Linked DNA regions of Homo sapiens: region 1 is linked to region 2. Evidence: promoter capture Hi-C in 16 types of primary human blood cells and fetal thymus (Javierre and others, 2016). All regions are on one chromosome and are shown on one strand. The core of a region is centred on a gene start or on the middle of the fragment in contact, and the rest is flanking DNA. Distances in the headings are between cores, read along the strand shown. Region 1 has its middle 280 kb from the start of LINC01605. Region 2 holds the start of LINC01605 (long intergenic non-protein coding RNA 1605).

Region 1 (4,433 bases), core at 1,007-3,506, 280 kb before region 2:
TGATGAAGACTGTTGCAAGGATTCTTCCAAAGCTGAGTCCATGACCTTTTGGCTAAGTTATAATGTTGGGTACCACCAGCACTTGACTTCTATTTAATATAATTCTGCTAAGCATACTGGCTCAATTTCTGACCCGAGTAACCTATGCCACTAGGGACTGGAAAAGCACCTTTCTCCTGGGGCAACAGCCCCAAAAGCTGAAATGAAAAGTCTATTTTTCTATTGCCATCTTCTGCAAGGTGGCCCAACAATTCAATAGGAAAAACTTAGTTTTTTCTCCTCATCCTTCAAATATAAAACACACCCTATCGAACTGTCTAAAATGTCCTAGCACTTGTAAAACACATCTGCTGTTTCTTCTGATTCTGTAGAATTATCTTACCTTTGTCAACACCCAGGCAAGACCAGAATTAAGCTTTTCATCTGAAGCAGAGTTTGACATAAGCTTAGGGCATCAGATCTCAATGGAACAAGAAATGAATCCTTGAAAGCACCAAGAATATAAGAGAGGGACCCACACCAGAAGTAATCGAGAGTATCACAAGGGGACAATGATTCCTGCAACTGTATGCAAACTGGAGGAGAACTAGCAGCTGAACCTGAAGATGTCTGACCTTGAGGGTTTTATTTAATTCCTATCCAAGGATGCCAACAGGTCTCAGAGATGGGGGGGTGCACTGCCCCTATGTTGCCCAAGGTTAGAGACACAAAAGCTCAGAGGGTTGAGTAGATGACTGTCATCTCCCCAAAAGCCATGATATCTTTTCAGCCTATCCCTTCCCTGTCTACAGCCAGTTCTGCACACATTCCCCGCATCTTCCTACACCAAGTGTATTAGTCTGTTTTCACACTGCTGTAAAGGTACTACCCGATGACCAGGTGCAGTGGCTCACACCTGTAATCCCAGGACTTTGGGAGGCCGAGGCGGCCGGATCACCTGAGGTCAGGAGTTTGAGACCAGCCTGGCCAACAAGGTGAAACCCCGTCTCTACTAAAAATGCAAAAATTAGCCAGGTGTTGTTGTGGGCATCTTTAATCCCAGCTACACGGGAAGCTAAGCCACAAGAATCACTTGAACCTGCGAGGCGGAGGTTGCAGAGAGCTGAGATCGCACCACTGCACTCCAGCCTGGGAGACAGAGTGAGACCTTGTCTGCAAATAAATAAATAAATAAAAATAAAAAATAAAAAAAAAAGATACTACTCGAGACTGGGTAATTTATAAAGGAAAGAGGTTTCATTGACTCAGTTCTGCATGGCTGGGAAGGCCTCAAGAAACTTAAAATCATGACAGAAAGGGAAGCAGTTATGTCTTACATGACGGTAGGAGACACAGGAGAAAGTGAAGGGGAAAGAGCTCCTTATAAAACCATCAGATCTCGTGACAGCTCAGTCACTATCATGAGAACAGCATGGGGAAAACCAACCCTGTGATCCAATCATCTCCCTTCTTTGACACGTGGGGATTACAAGTCCCTCCCTCCACATGTGGGGATTACAATTCAAGATGAGATTTGGGTGGGGACACAGAGCCAAGCCATATCACCTAACAAAGGTTTGTTTCCCCAAAAGTCTCAAGCCAAACTCAGTGAAGAACTGGACATAAGAACAGTGGGAGACTCTGCATACATTCTGTGTCTAGCTGAGCACAGCAGCTATAAAGAAGAAAGTTCTATTTCCTCAGGTGGCGAAGCATGGTGGAGCTGGGCCTCCCACTGGACTGGGGTCTGTGCCCCTTGAGGATAAAGGAGAGAATCAAGCTCAGTGGGAAAATGGGAACATTGAAATCAAACCTCACCAGCTGCACAGGTTTCCTAGGGCTGAGATTGCCTTTACTGATTATAGAAACTTCGTCAAACTTTGTATAAACAGAAATGCACAATAGGAAGAGATGCATTTTTCATGGGCCACAGTTTGCAGTCCCCCCAGGAAGTGCTTCCTACACTTAGGGCCACGAGTCGTTGACATAGACCCAGATTCTCTCCCCTGCAGCTCCTCTTTGCTGGGGAAGGTTGGGATCAGCCCCATGATGCTTGCTACCAGAAATACATGGTGACCAGCAGGGAAAGTGGATAGTAGCTCAAGAGGACACACCTGTCTGCTCCTTCAGCTCTTCCCTCCTGAGTCAAGAGGAATCAGAAACATCCACTCCAAGGGGAAGAACCTGTAACTGGATCAGCTACTGTGCTTTCAAAAGAGCTTAGCCGCTGGGCACATGTGACCAGGGAGCATTTGCAATGTGGCTAGTCAGAAATGAGGCACACGATAAGTGGAAAATGCACACTGGATTTTGAATACTATGCACAAAAAAAATGTAAAATATCTCATTGATTTTTATATTACTTTTTTCATATTGCTTGTATTTTAAATATATCAGGTTAAATAAAATTTGTTATTCAGAGTAATTTCACTTCTTTATTTTTACTTTTTTATAATGTGGCTCCTAAATAATTTAAAACTGCACATGGGGCCTGCATTATATTTCTATTGGACAGCCCTGAACTGGAGGATAAACATCAATGAAGGAAACAGACAAGGACTGCCAGGTCATTCCACTCTGAGCACGCCATGTATGGAAAGTACTTAATGACAAGTGTGCCTCATTTTATTCAGCAAACTTGAAGGTCAACATAAAGAAATGGGAAGACAGTAGGCCTAAGCACCAAGAGTCCAGGCCCGGGAACTCCACCAGCCAGATGTGGGCCAGGAGTGGGAGTCAAACCAAAGCACAGCCTCCAATTAGCCCATCATCTCCCACTTCTTCCTCTCAGAAGATCTGGACTTTCCTGATGCAAAAGACCCCACGGCCAGCATTTCCTATCCAATCCCCACCGATGGCTGTTGTAGGCTTCTGAAAAATCAGAACAGGTTAAGTTGCTCAGACTCAACCTTTGGGGTCCTTTCTGGATATAGTGGGAAATGTGGGATTTGTGGTTGGACAAATCTGGAGTCAGATTTCAGTTCTGCTGTTGACAAGTCCCACGTGCTTAGACAAGAAACTAAACCTCTCTGAGTTGTCATTTCTTCCTATGTAAACTAGGTATTAGGATGGTGCAAAAGTAATTGCAGATTTTGCCATTACCTTTAATAAAATAATTTATTTTATTGTATTAAATTTTTGAACTTTAATAAATTTATTTTATTAGATTATTAATAAAAGAAATTATTTTATTTGATTATTAATAGAAATTATTTATTTTATTTGATTATTAATAAAATAATTTATTTTATTTGATTATTAATAAAATAAATAATTTATTTTATTTGATTATTAATAAAATAAATAATTTATTTTATTTGATTATTAATAAAATAAATTATTTGTTTTATTTGATTATTAATAAAATAAATTATTTGATTATTAATAAAATAAATAATTTTATTTGATTATTAATAAAATAAATAATTTATTTTATTTGATTATTAATAAAATAAATAATTTTATTTGATTACTAATAAAATAAATAATTTATTTGATTTGATTATTAATAAAATAAATTATTTATTTTACTATTGTTTATTGATTCTATATATTTATACATTTATTTTATTAATAAAATTAATCAAATAATTTATTTTACTATTGTTTATTTTCTATATATATTTATATAATTATTTCATTATTACTAAAATAAATCAAAGCTCCAGTAAAAACTTCACTGGACACATTCAAGTGCTTACACAGAACCTGGCACATAAATGGTACCTATTATGGCTCTATGTTCTATGAAATTGTATATTCTTCATTTTGTTGAATTAATCTCTATTTTAAATGCAGTAGAGGAGCTGGCTGTGTAAAGGACACTTCCTCTAAATCCTCATCAAATGGCAAAGAGTACTTCCCTAACGAAAAGAACTGCTCCCTGATTCCCTGTCCCAATATTCTCCTATGCATTGGGAAACCCTCCTCTCTTCAATAATTAGTTTTTATGCATCCAGATTTTTTATACCTGAGCTCTCACATTTACCTCAAGCGAGGCACATGAGTATCCAACTCTCCATAAGGTTCCCAATGCAAGACTTTTTCTGTATCCCAGGTGGCAAGGCAGAGAAAGAAAATCCCCGAACCAAGCTTTCCCCAAAGGCCTGGTGGGGCTGGGAGGCAGAGACAGCCCAGGAAGAGGTCTTCACAGGGAAGTGGAGAGAGCAAAGGAGGAAGAAAAACAAACACAGTTTTAATTAAACACAGTGTATCTAAATCAGGGAGGTATGTTCAGAGAGCAAGGAAGGGTGAAATGGAATTTCTAGAAGAAAACAACTTTCTTCACCTTCTTAGTTTCATTAACATTGAAATGAACCCCCTGAGGAGCAGGAGCCAGGCCCTACTGCAGGGGAGGAGAGAAAGCTGCCCTGCGCCTCTATGGGGCTTTGTACTCTTTGGCACTGGATCCACCAACACAGGGCACCCCTCCTGGAGCCAGCTCTTGGGGGCAT
Region 2 (4,359 bases), core at 1,118-3,617:
GCCATATATTTTTATGTGTTTTACGTAAGTGCATGTGTAATTTATTGATAGCAAGGTTTGCATGCATTTGTTCTGTGAATCAGCTCGGGCTGGACTTCCTGGGAATCCCAGGCGAAGATCTCAGGGTCTCTTTCTGCTGATGGCTCTCCCTTCCACGACCGGTCCCTTCCCTTCCCTGGGCTTCAATTTCCACGTTGGTAAATGAAAGGGTTAAGCTATTTCTACAATCCCTTCCTTCTTGGGCATTGTTGATTCCTGGGAAGCCCTGACGAAGAGAGAGGACGGTAAGAGTTTACCTAAACGTCTCTGCACCCCATGCTTGAAAACTCAAAGATCAGCCCCGAAGCGTCCATGAATCCTGGGACAAAGAAAAGGACTTCAAGGCCTCATACCTATCAACAAGAGAGATTCCTGCTCCTCCAGCCCCTCCACCCCTTCACTTTTGTGCTGAGGAACCCCCCATCACCAGGAGGAAGGAAGCCTGCCCAGTAAAGGGGCACTCCCAACAGCCCACCAGCTCCTGCGCCCAGCTGCCCCTGAAATCCTCGGACTCATTTTGTCCAGCAGCCTTGACTTTGTCAGGGGTACCAGTCATGTAATCCCTGAGGTGTCTACAAAACCCCGCAGTCATGGGCTCCATGCACACTCAAGAACAATGAGGAGCTTCAAAAGCTAAGGAGGCTTTTCCCAATGCTTCCATGGTGTCTCGATGGTTCCTGAGGTCTTGATACTCTGCCATGGCTTGGCAGTTTGGAAATGGTTTCCTGGTCTGGCTGTCCTAAGGATCCCTGGTTGTGTGACTGGGAACAAACCCTTCAACCTTCCAGGCACAGTTTTCTTCTGTAAAATGAGAGGGTTGGGTGCAAGTTTCCTGAGGCCCTGGGGCCTTGTGGCTGAGTTTATCTCCCCGACTCCCTGTCCATCCTCCTATGGAAGTACTCATAAAGCATTTCACAGCCACAAGGAAAAGGCACACAAGGTCCCCCAGCCCCCACACACAGAGGAGCCACACCTGCACCCCTCCCTCAAGGCCAGGCTTCCTCTCCCCCAGCACACGCAAGTTCTTCTCGGCCTCCCAGCTCTTTTCAGCAGCTCCCCAGAATGGAACGGCCCAGCCATGGCTTCTCAGAGGACAGCTTCTTGGCAGAGCTGGGAGTGGGTGGAGTAGAGCACATTTTTTCCTTTGAGGTCCAAAGGGCTGTCAACCCTCTTCAGCTGCCCTGGGGCCCAACAGCCACAGAGAGAGATTTATGACCTGGATAGCTTTGATCCCAGTCTCCGATAAACATCAGGAACAGCTCGACCCTAAACCCCGAGGAGAAGGTTTATGGATCAGAATGCAGCCTCCTGGAGAAAACGAGCCCAGGAGGGGGTGCCCAGGGACTGATTGGGCCCTTAAAGTTCTCTCATCAACAGACCCACTGCCATCTGCCCTTGCTTTCTGGGGAAAGGGACACAGCTGGGTGGCTGAGGCCTTTGAACAAGAAGCAATGCTGATCAGAGAGAGGTGAAGATCCTGTCAAAGGTTAAACTGGGGAAGGGGTGGAGGCGGTGGGCCCAGGCCTCTGAAATTCCCCACCCTCGCTCACCTGTTCTTCCAAACAGCGTTGTCCATGTTTCTCTAAACCACACACCAAGACAGAGCAGAGAGAGAACGCACCAGATAAGATCTGAGCTGAGAAAGGAATGTTTCATCCGTGGGTTTTGTTGTCCCTGTTCTTCTTGTTGATACTGTTGTTCTTGGTGATGATGGGGGTGGTTAATTGCTTGATTATATTTCATCCCTGTCTTCTTTCCAAAAGGACAGGGGGCCAGGAGAGTCTGTGTGGTCACAAACCCTTCATAGCTTTTTCCCGTCCCCTCCACTTGACCATGTGGGATGGCAGGGAATCCACACCCTCTTGGAACATCCCCTGTTTTGCTGATTGAAAAGAGATCCTAGAAACAGCACTACATCCAAGGTGAAGGAGGGGCCAGCCAGTCTCCTCTGGATGCCACCTCAGATGGGTTGCCTCAAGTTTAAGGTCTCAGCCACATCCATAAAACTGTTCCCCTCTGTGAAGCAACTTCTGCCATGGGGAGGTGGAGAAGGATCTTCTCAAAGCAAGTCCGACAGGCAGAGTCTTCACTCTCCGGGGTCCGGAGTGTTCTATAGACATCGGGAAACATACATCCATCTAAAAAGACACCCTAATAAACCTGCAGCTATTCATTGCACCCAAGAAACCAGCCTGTGGCCCACGCATGCAGGAATAAACACATATTTGCTGAGAACCAAATTGGGTCTAATGACCCTGGCCTGTCTCGCAGGGTCATCCTGAGAAATAGCTGATGTCAGACGACGAGCGTGAGCAGCTGTTCTCCATTTGCACTCAACAAGAGAAAAGGGCCTTAAATTTCAGCGGGAGGGATTAAGGTTAAACATTAAGAACAGCTTCCTGGCTAGGAGGGTTGTGAAACACTGTAATGTGTTACCAAGGATGCTGTAGACATTCCTCTCTCAATGAGACTTTAAAGAGGAAGGAGGTTGGTGATCTGCCCAGGAGGTTTTATTAGAAACTTTATTAGGTCATCTGGTCCATCCGCCTGAAGGCAAGGGCTTGGACTAAACACCCACCAAGCAAGGCCTTTCTGGGCACAGGAAGGCCTCTATAGTCCTTCACAATCAAAAATGCTGAGAAACTCCCTGGGCCCTAGACAGTGAAAAGAGAAACCAGAGTCATCAGCGAGGCCACCCTTTGGGGCCTGATTTCAAGCTTTAGCTAGTGTTAGTCGCCCATAGCAATAAGAGGGAGAAATGTGATTTTCAAACCCTCCGGAGACCAATACAGTTATTTACCAAACAGCACCAAGTGAAGCTTCCCCACCCACAGGGAAAGGACCATTTCCTGAAAATCAGGTCGGCCCCTGGCATTCCAAGGGCAAGCAGATCACCAGTTCTGACGTGTGGGAGCAAAAGGCAAACCATAAGATCACACATCTGGCTGGGCACGGTGGCTCACATCTGTAACTCCAGCACTCAGGGAGGCCAAGGCAGGATCGCTTGAGGCCAGGAGTTCAAAACTAGGTTGGGCAACATAGTGAGACCCCATATAAACTAAAAAAAAAAAACTTAGCTGGGCACGGTGGTGTGCACCTGTAGTCCCAGCTACTCAGGAGACTGCAGCAGGAGGATCGCTTGAGCCCAGGAGTTTGAGGCTGCAGTGAGCTGGAATCATGCCACTGGACTCCAGCCCAGGCAACAGAGAGAGAGACCCTGTCACAAAACAAAACAAAACAAAACAAAACAAAACACCACATCTTATTGCCAGTGGAACAATCCACCCATTTCACAGATTGGGAGACTGGGGCCTAGATATGGGCAATGTCTTCACACAGTTACTTTGTATCAGAGTTAGGACTGGAAAACCCTGGTTAGGAGGCTGACTTTATCACTCACTACCTGCGTGACCTCAAGCAAGTCATTTAACAACCTCCGGCCCTCAGTAGCCTCTGCTACAAAATAAACAGTTTTTAATCAGGAAACCTAATACACGGAGCACTGTCATCAACTCCAGAGCACTATAGATGGAAAGTGACTGCCCTTGTTACCATCACTCTCACTTCTAGTCCTTTCTGTTCATCTAAGCTGCTGTAAATGTAGTCCTCTAACTTGGAGGGGATCCTTCTAAGTTCTCAGATTAACAGAAAAGTAAAATCTTTGATCTTTAAGACCATGGAAGGTATCTCGTTGGTCTTAGTCAACATCCCATCCAAGCCACTTGTTTTGCAGATGAGATAGGAGAGTATCCGCATACACTCAGAGAATGACAGCAGAGAACATCCCAGGCAGAGGTCGGGGTGGGGAGGAAATGCCAAGGATAAGCTTGGTTGACCTCTCAGTGAGGCTCCCTGGCCCTGGGTATAATTTTCAACTCATTAACTTGAAATCCTAGGTATGCTAAGTCATTCTTTGGTCTCTATTTCCTTAGTAGCCTCTGTTTCCACAGCCCCCAAGTTGCCTGGTTCTGGGGTTAGCACCCGGGGGTGGGAGGGTCTCCCAAAGTCATTCTTGACTAACTTGATGAACCCCGGGAATCTTCCAGTCTCTCACCATCTTCAGCCCTCCCCACCCACTCACCTCCTGCCCCGTCCCACCACTGTCTCTAAAAGGTCAGTTCCCACCCAAGGCAAGAGCAACTCAACAAAATACAAGGACATTTGGTAAGCAACTATTATTTGCAAGGCTCTGGGTAAGCAGATATTATCTGATTTGACCCCCCTGCAACCATCATGCAAGATAGTTATCATCGCCCACCTTTTACAGATAAGCAAGCCATGAATCAGAGGTTACCCAACATGACCTAGTGACACACGTAG

What was found. Contacts are between HindIII fragments. The CHiCAGO score rates a contact against its expected background, and 5 or more counts as called.
Region 1: a contact is called between a fragment that was not itself captured here and the fragment with the promoter of LINC01605 in region 2, in 1 of 17 cell types (M2 macrophages). The highest score is 5.4, in M2 macrophages.

Annotation. Positions count from the first base shown.
Region 1 is chr8:37,314,031-37,318,463 of GRCh38, forward strand. No RefSeq gene overlaps it. Among named protein-coding and RNA genes, the nearest start is that of LINC01605, 280 kb to the right of the region's middle. The HindIII fragment of the contact is 3,626 bases long and covers 444-4,069 here.
Region 2 is chr8:37,597,472-37,601,830 of GRCh38, forward strand. It overlaps LINC01605 (long intergenic non-protein coding RNA 1605), which reads right to left and starts at 2,368. Exons shown (of 5, transcript NR_170186.1): 1 at 1,590-2,368. The HindIII fragment of the contact is 9,185 bases long and covers 1-2,754 here.